4 separate regions of the Homo sapiens genome follow, and regions 1, 3 and 4 are each linked to region 2. Evidence: promoter capture Hi-C in 16 types of primary human blood cells and fetal thymus (Javierre and others, 2016). All regions are on one chromosome and are shown on one strand. Each heading gives the region's core, a stretch centred on a gene start or on the middle of the fragment in contact. The rest is flanking DNA. Distances are from core to core; before and after follow the strand shown. Region 1 overlaps MTHFD1L (methylenetetrahydrofolate dehydrogenase (NADP+ dependent) 1 like). Region 2 holds the start of AKAP12 (A-kinase anchoring protein 12). Region 3 overlaps MTHFD1L (methylenetetrahydrofolate dehydrogenase (NADP+ dependent) 1 like). Region 4 overlaps MTHFD1L (methylenetetrahydrofolate dehydrogenase (NADP+ dependent) 1 like).

What was found. The method cuts DNA at HindIII sites, captures the fragments that hold promoters and counts their contacts. A CHiCAGO score of 5 or more calls a contact.
Region 1: a fragment that was not itself captured here is called in contact with the fragment with the promoter of AKAP12 in region 2 in 2 of 17 cell types (endothelial precursors and megakaryocytes); the score reaches 14.0 in endothelial precursors.
Region 3: a contact is called between a fragment that was not itself captured here and the fragment with the promoter of AKAP12 in region 2, in 1 of 17 cell types (endothelial precursors). The highest score is 7.0, in endothelial precursors.
Region 4: a contact is called between a fragment that was not itself captured here and the fragment with the promoter of AKAP12 in region 2, in 1 of 17 cell types (endothelial precursors). The highest score is 6.2, in endothelial precursors.

Annotation. Positions count from the first base shown.
Region 1 is chr6:151,015,314-151,018,648 of GRCh38, reverse strand. It overlaps MTHFD1L (methylenetetrahydrofolate dehydrogenase (NADP+ dependent) 1 like), which reads right to left. Exons shown (of 28, transcript NM_015440.5): 24 at 2,956-3,133. Among named protein-coding and RNA genes, the nearest start is that of MIR12131, 86 kb to the left of the region's middle. The HindIII fragment of the contact is 4,585 bases long and covers 1-3,335 here.
Region 2 is chr6:151,237,598-151,241,241 of GRCh38, reverse strand. AKAP12 (A-kinase anchoring protein 12) reads right to left here and starts at 1,275. Exons shown (of 5, transcript NM_005100.4): 1 at 1,183-1,275; 2 at 518-858. The coding sequence starts at 679. RefSeq lists enhancers at 308-885, 963-1,472. The HindIII fragment of the contact is 4,204 bases long and covers 1-3,408 here.
Region 3 is chr6:151,059,743-151,063,046 of GRCh38, reverse strand. The region is part of intron 26 of MTHFD1L (methylenetetrahydrofolate dehydrogenase (NADP+ dependent) 1 like); the gene reads right to left. Among named protein-coding and RNA genes, the nearest start is that of MIR12131, 41 kb to the left of the region's middle. RefSeq lists a cis regulatory region at 1,449 and enhancers at 1,365-1,534, 1,782-2,981. The HindIII fragment of the contact is 468 bases long and covers 1,787-2,254 here.
Region 4 is chr6:150,998,506-151,001,926 of GRCh38, reverse strand. The region is part of intron 20 of MTHFD1L (methylenetetrahydrofolate dehydrogenase (NADP+ dependent) 1 like); the gene reads right to left. Among named protein-coding and RNA genes, the nearest start is that of MIR12131, 100 kb to the left of the region's middle. The HindIII fragment of the contact is 1,064 bases long and covers 1,016-2,079 here.

The DNA.
Region 1 (3,335 bases), core at 713-3,212, 220 kb after region 2:
AGTACTTAGCTCTGAAGAACAGAGCAGGGTGATGACCTCAACCATCTGGATATTCTTTCTCCCAGCTCTGCCTCTTCCTAGCTATGGGACACTGAGCAGTTGACTTAGTCTCTTCGTGCTTTAGTTTTCTTGTCTGTAAAATGGGAAGATATCACCAGTTTCCACCTAAGAGGGATGTTAGGACCAAAGAGGTGAACATGTGCAAAGCGCCCATATACCCAGCTCACAAACAACTCCTTAAAAGCGAGAGCTGTGGTAATATTAAATATTAATACATCAGCCCCGTTCTCTCACCACTGTGACTCCAGGCTTATCAACAACGCTGCTAAGCTCTTGCTTCACGGATTTCTTCTTCACTTATGCTATTGATTTATGCCACTGAACAGGAAAGAAGAGTGTCTGTGACATCTGAGTGACTCAACAATAGAATATGTGAGGGATGAAGGAACAGGAGAAGCAGCAATCAGCTTGAAGCCTGGGCACTCCACAATCATGCACTACCCCTGAAGACAAATCCATCAGCCAGAATCGGAACCACAAAATTCAGAATGGAGATGTCAGACGGGTGCAAAGACAGACGATCTGAGGAGGAGAGTGAGCCCTGGGAAGCTCAGGTCTTCTGACTGAACCATCGACATGTGCTTAAAAATATCCTAGAGGACCCAGCAATCCCACTTCTGGGAATACATTTCCAAAAGAATTGAAAACATGGCATGAACCCGGGAGGCGGAGCTTGCAGTGAGCCGAGATTGCGCCACTGCACTCCAGCCTGGGCGACAGAGCAAGACTCCGTCTCAAAAAAAAAAAAAAAAAAAAAAGAAAACACGGTCTTGAAGGGATACTTGTACATATGCCATATGCCATAAACACGCATGCTCATACAGCATTACTTACAATAGCTGTGAGGGGGAGCTCAAGTGTCCATCCACAGATGGACAAAGAAACAAAATGTGGGATATCCAAAGAATGGGAGCGTATTCAGCCCGAAAAATAAAGGAAATTCTGGCCGGGCGCGGTGGCTCACACCTGTAATCCCAGCACTTTGGGAAGCCGAGGTGGGTGGATCACAAGGTCAGGAGTTTGAGACCAGCCTGACGAACATGGTGAAACCCTGTCTCTGCTAAAAATACAAAAATTAGCTGGGCGTGGTGGTGCACGCCTGTAATCCCAGCTACTCGGGAGCCTGAGGCAGGAGAATTGCTTGAACCCGAGAGCAGAAGGTTGCGGTGAGCTGAGATGGTGCCTCTGCACTCCAGCCCGGGCAACAAAAGCGAAACTCCATCTCAAAAAAAAAAAAGAAGGGAAATTCTGACACTCTACAACATGCACGCACATTATGCTAAGTGAAATAAGCCAGCCACAGTATGATGCTACTTACATGAGGTCCCTGGAGTTGTTACATTCATGGAAATGAAGGAGAATGGTAGCTGGCAGGGACTGTAGGGAGGGGCATGGGGAGTTGTTCAGTGGGTACAGTTTCAGTTTTGCAAGATGAAAAGCGTTCTGGAGATTGGCTGCATGACAATGTGAATGTACTTAACACTACTGACGTGCACTTAAAAATGGTTAAGATGGGCCAGGTGTGGTGGCTCACGCCTGCAACCCTAGCACTCTGGGAGGCCGAGGCGGGTGGACTGCCGGAGCTCAGGAGTTCGAGACCAGCCCGGGCAACACGGTGAAACCCCGACTCTACTAAAATAAAAAAGAAATTAGCCAGGCACGCTTGCTTGCGCCTGTAGTCCCAGCTACTTGGGAGGCTGAGGCAGAAGAATTGCTTGAACCCGGGAGGTGGAGGTTGCAGTGAGCCGAGATCACGCCATTGCACTCCAGCCTGGGCAACAGAGCAAGGCTCTGTCTCAAAAAAAAAAAAAAAAAAAAAAGGCTAAGATAGTAAATTTTGTTATATATATATTTACCACAATGAAAATAAATAAATATATTATGTATGTATATATACACACACATACACTAGACATAGTTCAATAAAACCACAAGAGAAAAGAACCATAACAGAAATGAACAAGCAGAGGCCAGGTGTGGTGGCTCATGCCTATAATCCCAGCACTTTGGGAGGCCGAGGTGGGTGAACCATGAGATCAGGAGTTTGAGACCAGCCTGCCCAAGATGGTGAAACCCCGTCTCTACTAAAAATACAAAAACTTAGCCAGACGTGTTGGCAGGTGCCTGTAATCCCAGCTAGTCAGGAGGCTGAGGCAGAGAAGTGCTTGAACCTGGGAGGCAGAGGTTGCAGTAAGCCGAGATTGCACCACTGTACTCCAGCCTGAGCAACAGAGACTGTCTCAAAAAAAAAAAAGAGAAATGAACAAGGAAAATACCTCCCATGGTTTCCCAATCCTCACGAAATTGCTCTTGTTCCTGTGCAACTCCTGAAAGCGTCAGCTGTCAAATCCTGTTCGCTAAAGTACCTCCTCACTTAGGACTGCGATTTGGGAGTCTTCAAAAGCACAGGCTTTGGGACAAGGAGCTAGGGTCTGTACTTGGAAATGTGACTTTGTCATATGGCTTAAACTCTTCTACCTTTTTGTTTGTTTGTTTGAGACAGGGTCTCACTCTGTCGCCCAGGCTGGAGTGCAGTGGTGTGATCTCGATCTTGGCTCACTGCAGCCTCCACCTCCTGGGTTCAAGCAATTCTCCCACCTCAGCCTCCCGAGTAGCTGGGACTATAGGTGCACGCCACCATGCCCACCTAATTTTTGTATTTTTAGTAGAGATGGGGTTTCTCTATGTTGGCCAGGCTGGTCTCGAACTCCTGACCTCAAGTGATCTGCCCGCCCTAGCCTCCCAAAGTGTTGGGATTACAGGCGTGAGCCACTGCACCGGGCCTAAACTCTTCTATCTTTAGTTTTCTTATCTGTAGGGTTGTGGTGACAACAGAATGGGACAACCCATGCTAAGGTGTAAGAAATGTGAGCCATTGTTTTTACTAGATCTTACCTGAACATCATACAGGAACTGGAATCGGCTTCTTTTACTCGCAGCCTCTCTCACAGCCCGAGCCAAGTCCACCGATCCTTTTCCACCAACGGACCAGTGATAGCAGGGGACTGCATCAAAGGCACCAGCCCGCTTTGCAAGCTCACACACCAAGTCAATCTCAGCGCGGGTGTCGGTCCTAGTGAAGAAAATGTTTGTGGTTTTGCATCTGTATCCATTTAGCTATGTTTTCAAAGAAAGACTCACCATTTATACAGAACTTCGCTCCCTAACACTGAATACATTTTAAACATCAAAAGTGGTCACATCGTGTTTAAATAAATCAGACTTAAAGCATGGAAAAAAAAAGTCCTCTCTAAAGTGACTCAAATATTTCAAGT
Region 2 (3,644 bases), core at 26-2,525:
CGCTCGCTCCAGGCACCGCTGGCATCCAGGGCGGTACGCGACGGGGAACCCGAGGGTGGCTGGGCTCCCCGGCGGGCTCCACCACGAGTCCTGGCCTCACAGCTGACTTTCCGCATCTCGGAGCTCCGGAGGCCCGGCCCGGGGTCCATTCTCCACGGATCCCCCTCCGCGCAGCTCCTCCGCCTCGGGCTGCATGGCTCCCACCGGAAGAGTGCGCAGAAAGGCTCAGCCGCCGTGGGCAGGGCGCGGGTTTTATTATTGCGCATGGCGCAGTCGCCTCCCCTGGAGACCCGCGACAAAGATGCAAGCCCCCCGCCGCGCTCGCCGCTGCTCTGGCCCCGCCCCGGCGCGAAAGACCCTGAAAAGCCTCCAAAGAGGGGTTCGCACTCCTGAGTTTGCAGATGCGGCTGGATGGGCTGGGAAGTTCTCTCGGCGGAAATCGGAGGGACCCCCCCACCCCCACCCCCACCCCCAAAGACCCGCGCCTCCCGGCGCAGGTGGCCCGGCACGCCCGTACCTTGGTGGCGGGGTCCGAGGCAGCGATGGCGGGGTCCGCGGTGGTGTCTGGCGCCGCCTCGGCCGAGGGGCCGCCGCCGCTGGGCTCGGGCTCAGCCGGCGTGGAGCTCCCCTCGGGCGGCTGCTCCGGGCTGCGCTGCTCGGTGGAGCTCCCGGCGCCCATGGCTCCTCCGCACTTCTCCCGCGCCTAGCCGCCGGGTTACGCCTTCCCCAAGCCGCAGGGACAGGGGCAAGAGCCAAAAGACGCGCGCCCGCGAGGTCCCGAGAGCGCCTTCCTTCGCCGCCAGCCGACTGCGAACGCGCCCAGCCTGCGAATGAAGGAGACGCGCTCGCGGCAAACTCCTTAAAAGAAAAGGAAAAAAAAAAAAAGGCCACCTCTTAGCCTCCGCCCCCCTCCCCCCGGTTTTTCCCTCGCTTCATCACATGAGCACAGCCCCAGACACGCCCTGCAGCAGCATCTGCCCCCAGGCTGCCGGGACCAGAGGCGCTGCGACGCGCCAGCCCAGGTCCAGGCAGCCGCCCACCCGGCCCTCGGGCGCCTCCCGTTTCTAACAGGGCGACTAGAGCTGCGGGGACGACCCAGGGCCTCAGAAGGCAAGAGAGCAGGGGAGCAAAAAGCCTGCCGGGGACACTGGATTCTCTGGGGTTTATTAAATGATGGATCACCCAAGGCAGGAGCTTCTGCTGCAGCCGACTTTCAGCTCGCCCAGGAGCGAGTCCGAGTCCCCATTTGCTTTCCTGCAGATTGTGTTTAACTCCAAACATTTGTTCCAGCCTCCTCCCCATTAGCAGGAGAAAGGCAAGCGCTCCCTGGCTCCTCCTGAGTCCGACCATATTTGGGCACCTCACGTGGCAAGAGCAGGGAACCGAGAGGTTAACGCAGTCAGGCCACGGATGAGGTGGGCCACGCAGGCCCACGCTCTCCTATCCTCCGGAACAAGTGATGTCAGGCGATGCCATCAGCAGTGCTAGCCGCCCCCCTTCCCCCGGGGAACGGGGGGAAATGAGGCTGTTACCGGAAATGTGCCCGTCCTTCTTTGAGGGCCTGTGCTGGAAGTTACCCATCCAGGCCACCTCTGCTCCGCGCGATGCCGACACATGACAGCATAGATCTGTTCCTTTGCCGTCAGCCTTTCTCAAAAGATGAAGACTTTAAATAATACCAGCACAAGTGGCTTGCATCCTTTCATTTCCGACCCTTGAATATAATATGTATTACATGAGCATGGCAGCCAATCAATAAGTATTTGAACTAAATTAAATTTGTAGCTGGATTGCTTGGCGCAAAGCATTAAGGCTTTGGGGCTGAAAGACAAAATTTATTCCAGTTGTAACTAGCAACCGAGTGCCCCAGTTTTCACAAATACTTTGAATCTCCATTAAGAATGAAGAAACCAGCCTGGTTAACATAGCGAGACCTTGTCTCTACAAAAAATAAAAAAATTAGCCAGGCGCAGTGGTGCACCTGTAGTCCTAGCTACTCAGGAGGCTGGGGACGCTGGGGTAGAAGGATGACTTCAGCCCAGGAATTCGAGGCTGCAGTGAGCTATGACTGTGCCTCTGCACTCCATCCTAGTCGACAGAGCAAGATTCTGTCAAAAAAAAAAAAGAAAGAAAGAAGGAAGAAACTTTCGGAATATTCACACCAAATTCCAGATAAATATCTCATACTCAGATTTAGTACAATTTTGTAGAAAGGGTGTAAGCAGTAGTTCAGCACTAGGATGTTTCATGCCTAATGAATTGCATGAATCGAATGGTACCCTGGGAACCATAGGTTAGTTACTCACCATCAAATTTGTTTTCTGAATTAATTTTTTTTCTTTTTCTTTTTTTGAGACAAGGTCTCGCTGTGTTGCCCAGGCTAGTGTTGAACTCCTGAGCTCAAGCGATCCTCCTGCCTTGGCCTCTCAAAGTGCTGGGATTATAGGTGTGAACCACCACACTGGGCCTGTTTTCTGAATTAATTATTTTTATTTAAAGGACTACACGAAGGCCAATTTCTCTGGAGTTTATCTCTTAAGAAACAGTATATTTGCAAAATGCTTAGTTTTAGGAATTTATACACATTTCCCCCATTTTGACTTAAATTTTGACTATTTAGGAAACATTAGAATTCTTACTCTGTACCAGGCACTGTTCAATGCACTTTACATAATAATCTTTACAATAACCCCATGGGATAGATAGTATTATTCTCATTTTACCATTGGCAGGAGGGGGAGGAGTAGGCCCGGAGAAATTAAATTGTGTGCTTCAGGTTTCACAGCCAGGAGTTGGAAGAGCAGGAAGTCCAACTGGCATCTGCTTTCAGGGTCCACGCTTCACCACCGCATGGCACTCCCCTTCCCTTTCAATCAACTGTGTTCTCTCCTCTCAGAGGTGTTACTGAAACGTGGCATTTGGACCTCACTTAGGATTTTAAGAGCAAAAAGCACTGTTAAAACCTACTTGAGGCCAGGTGTGGTGGCTTACACCTGTAATCCCAGCACTTTGGGAGGCCGAGGTGGGTGGATCACCTGAGGACAGTAGTTCAAGACCAGCCTGGGCAACATGGTGAAACCCCGTCTCTACTAAAAGTACAAAAATTAGCCAGGCATGGTGGCGCGTGTCTGTAATCCCAGCTACTCAGGAGGCCAAGACACGAGAACTGCTTGAACCTGGGAGGTGGAGGTTGCAGTGAGCTGAGATCATGCCATTGCACGCCAGCCTGGATGACAGATTAAGACTCCGTCCCAAAAAAAAAAAAAGAAGAAGAAAAAAAAAACTATTTGAGAATGATTAACGTCAGCACATTTGAAAATGTATCAGTAAGTAGCACAAATACTATCAACATTTTCACATTCTGTGAGATTATATTTACTTTGTTCCTGGGAAATTCTTAGCAAAGCTTTTCACATCTACTACCCTTTAAATTTTCAGAAAGGATTGCAGGGTCAAGCCAACAGTGTACAACCTACGTGCTGAGGAAGATATCAGCATCTGCTTAGATTAGCAGTTACTTGCTTTTTGTTTATTTTCCAGGCCATGTAAATGTTCATACTCTTATTTGTAAAAAGTAAAATCATTGCGCTGGGCGCGGTGGCTCACGCCTGTAATCCCAGCACTTTGGGAGGTTGAAGTGGAAG
Region 3 (3,304 bases), core at 771-3,270, 180 kb after region 2:
AATTTTTTTTTTTATTGTACTTTAAGTTCTAGGGTACATGCGCACAAGGTGCAGGTTTGTTACATATGTATACATGTGCCATGTTGGTGTGCTGCACCCATTAACTCGACATTTACATTAGGTATATCTCCTAATGCTATCCCTCCCCCCTCCTCCCACCCCACAACAGGGTGAAGTGGATATCTTAAAGAGCAACAGCTGTATATATATATATATATGGCTGTCTTGTATCCTTCTATCCAAGTTAAAGGCCATCCAAGAATGAAATCCAAAACTGGAGAAATGTGTAGCAGCAACTTCATTTTACAGTTTGCAGGTTTCACTTTATCTTTTACCAGAGCTTCAAGCAAATAATAAACTTGTTTTGAGTTTGATTTATTTTCATTTCCCATATCCAAAGGGTTACTCTGCCTACTCCTGCCCCCAACACAGTCCTAATATATAAGATGTGTTCTTCATCTATCTCTTTCTTGGCTCTAGAATATAAGTAACTTGAGGGCAAAGACTTTGTCCCATTTATCTTTTTATTCCTAGTGGCAAACAGAGTGCCTGTTAACATAAAAATCTGTTAAACAGACACAAGAGCAAAGAGGAGCAAAAGGTCTTTTTTTTTGAGATGGAGTCTCTGTTCTCCAGGCTGGAGTGCAGTGGCGCGATCTTGGCTCACTGCAAGCTCTGCCCCCCGGATTCACGCCATTCTCCTACCTCAGCCTCCCGAGTAGCTGGGACTACAGGTGCACGCCACCAAGCCTGGCTAATTTTTTTTGTATTTTTAGTAGAGACGGGGTTTCATCGTATTAGCTAGAATGGTCTCGATCTCCTGACCTCGTGATCCGCTCGCCTCGGCCTTCCAAAGTGCTGGGATTACAGGCGTGAGCCACCGCACCCGGCCTTGGAGAGAAAGGTCTTAATGATTCACTGTTCTTTGTAAATCAAGGTGGACTGAACATGAACAGTTGACTTAGAGGCTGCTTAGAAATTCCTTCCAGGTAGAGGCCTTGATGTGATCAGCTCTCCTTTTGAGGGTCTGAGGACCAGGATCTTTGGGAAATAAGTTGTATTAACCAAACTTACAAGGGCCTGATTTATAACCTAAATGCCATTTTGTTCTTTTATGAACAATGCCTGACTTTGTCATTTTGTGAGGCAGTCTGGTATGATGGAAGGAGTAACAGACTTGAAATAGAAAAATGTGCAACCAAGCCACATCGCTGGGGACTCAGTTTTCTCATTTTTATAATGTGAAGAACTAGATGGTCTCTATGGTGGTTTAAAGGAATACAGGGTTAGACTTTCTCTCTAGAAGACCTGGTTTTAATGACCCTTTGAGGGGCTAATGACTCCAGAAACTTTCATTGATAGCACAGATGTCTCCAGTGAACCTCAGACTCAATACGGAACTGTGCAGTGGACATCTTCACTGTAAATTACAACAAATGCTTCAGATCCAACATGTTAGTAACCAAATCCACTACTGTGTAGGAAAGAAATAATGTAGCAGGCCTGAGTCTGAGAACTTGGATTGTGGGAGGGTTTCAACTATCCTCTAACTGACAAGAGGGGCTCACTGTGCCTAAATTTCACAAACAAAATGGTCTATGCTGAACATTTGCTTTTGTTCTGAGAGACTGAAATTTGGTACGTGACCATTACCCAATAAAAACCTTGGGGACTGAGTCTCTAATGAGCCTCTTCTGCAGACAATATTTCAGGTGTCGTCATAGTTCAATGCTGGAGGAACTAAGTGTATCTTGTGTGACTCTATGGGGAGAGTACTCTGGAAGCTTGCGCCTGAGCTCCCCTGGACTTGACCCCACGTGCTGTTTCCTTTTGCTAATTTTGCTTTGTATCCTTGTGCTGTAATAAATCATGGTCTTAGGGGCTCCCAACACAACTATCTTCCGCCTAAAATTGTTTCTAGGTTCTTTATTGCTTATCTAAACAAATGACAACCCCAGTCATTAAGCGAACAAGTCAGAAATCTGAGAGCCATTTCTGCATTCCCTCTTCCCCGCTCCTGTTCATTGAGTTTAGTTCATTCTAGTTCGGTAATTGCTCTCATTCCCATCCCCTGCCTACACCTCAGGTTAGGCCCTGGGTATTTCTTGCCTACTACTTTCTAAATAGGTCTTCATGACTAATTTCTCCGTTTTCCACTCCACCTTCCAGACTGCTGCCTGAGTGATCTCTCTGAAACATGAATGTAATTATGATATTGCTGTACTTAAAATCCCCAGGTCCTGACTCCTAAGCTTGACGCTCAAGGCCTCACAAGACCTGGGTCTTGCTTTCCTGCCCAGTGTCACAGCTCATTCCAAATCTCCTGTTTCCTCCCCATGCAGTGGCCATGGTAAAGGCTTACAGCAATGTTCTCTCCTGCCTTCATGCTGCGGACTTGCTGCCTCCTTGTCCCTCGACCCCTGGTGAGTCTGTTCTCGTCCTTCATGATCCGGCTTAGGTAACCCCATTCCTGGCCTGACTTCCCTATCCCTGCCAGCCCCCCATGGCATCTGCTCCCTGGCTCCTGGAGCAGGGGGCTCCCTCTGTCCCAGACGTCAGCTCTTTCAGCTGTCTCTATATTTAACTTGTGTGCCTCTCTAGCCTGTGAACTCTGCAAGTGCAAGGTCCAGGCCTATGTTGTTGTTGTTTGTTCTTCTAATGGCCTAGTACCCAGCACTCCTCAATAAATATTAAATGAGTGAATCAGAAATGAGGCATTTGCGTGGTTGCACAGTGATGCATCCATTAAGCTAGAATGGCCTAATGAATCATCTCCGTTCATCTGAGGATTGTGTACCAAAAGGGAGAAGGTTAGTCACTTACAAGGAGAGAACTCTAGCACCTGGACTCTCCTGGTAAGAACAATAAAATCTCATTCTTCAGGGCTCCCTTTTCTGAATTCCACATGGTCCTATACCTTCTGGCGTCCCTATTCCAGCCCAAGGCAATGCAATTATTTACTATGTAAACGTTAACTGAGTTGTTTATGGCAGGGTTGCTTCCCACAAATGCAGTGCTGTTCATCTTAGAGATGTCCTCTTGCTGACCTTGGCCTGCACTGCCCTTCCCTTAAATCCCAATATCCTTGCTCAAGTCTCTCTTGTACCCGCCCTACATTAGAGGAAGGGCTTGAGTCTGGAACCAGGCAAAGCCAAAACCCACTGAAAGCATCAACTCGCTCGTAAATAAAGCGGGCGACTCCCTAGTGCATGGTGTAAGACACCGAGTTAGAGCCTTCCCTTACCATCCCGTAACTGAGCAGCACAGACCCACCGTGCAGAGAGCACAGCCACCCTCCAGACTG
Region 4 (3,421 bases), core at 298-2,797, 240 kb after region 2:
TTAAGTCAGAGTGCTTGTTGTCTCTTTTAGAGCAATTCATTTAGAGATTATAAATCACCTCCTCTGCTAGTTCTTGGTCCATGTGTCAACAGTGATGAGTTCTGGGGCAGCAGCAGGGAGTATTCTGTTTGACAAAGAAACACTTCAGAGAGAGGATGCTCCAGGGACCACTTCCACCTGGACTTGGTACCCAACCCCAGGCAGGAACAGGCCACACAGGTAGAGAACACTGGCGCTGCAATCCGGCCTCCTGAGGTCCAGGTATTTTACCCACTCCCAGCCGAGTGATCAGATCCCAAGACTTGCCTTCCTAACCTCCCCCAGCCAGGCACCAGCTCTCCCTTCGCTGGATGGGAAATGAGTGACCCCAATGCTCTAGCCTGGGTTTTCTTTTCAAATTTTACTTTCTGTTGTCAGCACATGTGCATGGAGGGAAAAGAAAAGGCAAGAACCGCTTTAGATCTGAAATTCTCATTTCTGCTTTTACACTGGGGAAAACCCTCCTTGGACTTTGAAAAATAGTTAAACTGAAGTGCTGAGATAGTTTTTCCGTAAAGTTTTCTTAATTTCTACTTGAAATACCTGGATGTTGCCACCAGAATTGCAAATTAAACTTCTGCCTTGCTATGGCACTAAGAGGTCCTTTATTCCATGGGTACTCAGAAGATAAAGAAATTAGAACTGTCGGATTTCATGGCTACTTCACAATGGTAGCAACTTTTCTCTCCATGTGTGCAACAAACATATATCAAATATACAACATATTGAGTTCACCATTACGTCTGGACACGAACTTGAATTTATGGACTGCCAGAGGTTTCACAGAAGAACTAGTCCTTGCAACTAGCTCAGCTCAAAATAGGTTAAGAAATATGAGCGCACGGGGCGTATCTGGCTAACTTAATCATCAAAAGAATTTCTTGTAAATAAGAAAGAAAAATAAAACTGTAGCTTTCATTCAAGTAAAGGCTACACTTTGCTTCCTCACAACAAATCAAAAACAAAAATAGAAGCTTTGTAGAGGAACAAGCAAGGTGTATGCTGGACAGTACCTCATTCTGAAGCGCTGTTGGTGTTAACTGCCAAACAGTGCTAAAAGAAATAGAAAGTAGAATCTTCAGGCTGCCTTTTTCTGCCCTATATAAACATGTTTATTCAATGGCAGCTGTCTGCAGATAAACTCAAAAAAAGTCACAGCAACACATGAATTCTGAACTTGAATTAAAGGGGAGAAAGTGAGGATTGTAATGACTTTTTCAGTGACTACCAGGAGACAACACCAGGATAAATCATTCAATTAACTATAAGAGAAATTCGGCATTATTACTGCAGCTTAAAAATAGAACTTTGTTTAGAATATATTAATTTTGAGGATCCAACTCATCTTAAGTCAATGAAATTTCACTAACCACTAAATCCTTTCTGCTCTTTAGGATTTGTCTATTCAACATATAACCCTGTTTAGTTTTATTAAATATCTTGGAGTCGAATTTCCAGGAAGTATATAGAACTAACTAGACACATATCAGGAGACCTAAAGGAAAAAGAAACTGGCACAAACCTCAATTTTTTTCTTTTTTTTTTTTTTTTTGAGACAGAGTCTCTCCCTGTTGCCAGGCTGGAGTGCAGTGGCACGATCTCGGCTCACTGCAACCTCCACCTCCCTGGTTCAAGCAATTCTCCTGCCTCAGCCTCCCGAGTAGCTGGGACTACAGTTGTGCACCATCACACTCAGCTAATTTTTGTATTTTTAGTAGAGACGGGGTTTCACCATGTGGCCAGGATGGTCTCAATGTCTTGACCTCGTGATCCACCTGCCTCGGCTTCCCAAAATTCTGGGATTACAGGCATGAGCCACCACACCCAGCCCAAACCTCAATATTAATATTAGCACATGCCCTTCTTCCTTTCCACCTCTTTGGTGATGACCAAGTTCATACACATTAGGGGAAGATTGGAGGTGGTGCACAGAACATGAGGAAGTTACTGGGGACGTATTTGGGAAAAGCGATAGAGAAAGTAAGCAGTGTAAAGAGGAGACAGGTACACGTGAACATATTTTTGGTTGTAGTAAAAGCTTTGAAAATACCAATACCACTTAGACGTGCTTTTGTGTCAGAACTCAGAATTTCCTTCCTCCAGAGCATTAATTAGTTACAGACACCGGTTTACATTATTTAGAACCATCATGAGTCATCTTGTTTTGTAAGATGATTTTGACCAAAGTGAAATTTAATTTCCAAAAAGAAATGTTTCGATGAATATTATAAATTATACACATTTAAAATTATATGATTATACATGTAATAAATTATATAGGCTTATTTTTAGCTCCTTTATAAAAATCCATCAGAATTAAATTCATAAATCCATTATCCAAATAGTTCCCATGTTCTTGTAGGGAACAAGAACAGTTTGTACAGTGCCATGACTATGACCAGAGCTTTAAGCCTTCTGCTCTTGGCCAACAGTGGTGTTCCCCAATCCTGGTTAGAGGCCTGGGATTTTGGATGATTGCATGAGGGAAGAGCTCTATTCTTGCAACTCCTGAGAACTGGACACCAGGAAGTTAACTCAAAACAAATGAATTCTGACAGGCTTGGCCATTAACATGATTTAGCCCAAAATAATGGAAAGATGACACAGAACACTTTTTACTGAGCAGTTATGAAAACAAACCCAAAAGGGAAAGAAGTACAGAATTATGCAAAATGGTTGCAAAATGCAACATGGAAAATGCAATTATGCAAAAATGGTTGGCACCAGACTGAAGTGATTTTTGGCTTTTAAATTTTTTCAGATTTTGTAATATTTGCATATACATAACGAGATATCTTGGGGTTGGGACCCCTGTCTAAACATGAAATTCATTTATATTTCATATACTCCTTATAGACATAGCCTAAACTATATATATATATGTATATATATTTTTTTAAGACAGGGTCTCCCTCTGTTTGCCCAGGCTGGAGTGCAGTGACATGATCTTGGCTCACTGCAACCTCTGCCACCCAGTTCAAGTGATTCTCCCACCTCAGCCTCCCAAATAGCTGGGACTACAGGTGTGTGCCACCGTGCCCAGCTAATGTTTTTTTTTTTTTTTTGTATTTTTAGAGGAGACAGGGTTTCATCACCTTGCCTAGGCTGGTCTCGAACTCCTGAGCTCAAGTGATCTGCCTGCCCTGGCCTCCCAAAATGCTGGGATTACAGGTGTGAGCCACTGTGCCTGGCCCTGGACAATAGTTTTAATAATTTTGTGCATATATGAAAGATTTAACTGCATGCTGACTGCAACCCGCCACACGAGATCAGGTGTGGAATTTTCCACTGGTGGCATCATGTTGTCACTCAAAAAACTTTGGATTTTTGAGCACTTCTTTGGATTTTGGATTTTTGAATTAGGGATGCTTAACCTGTGTAA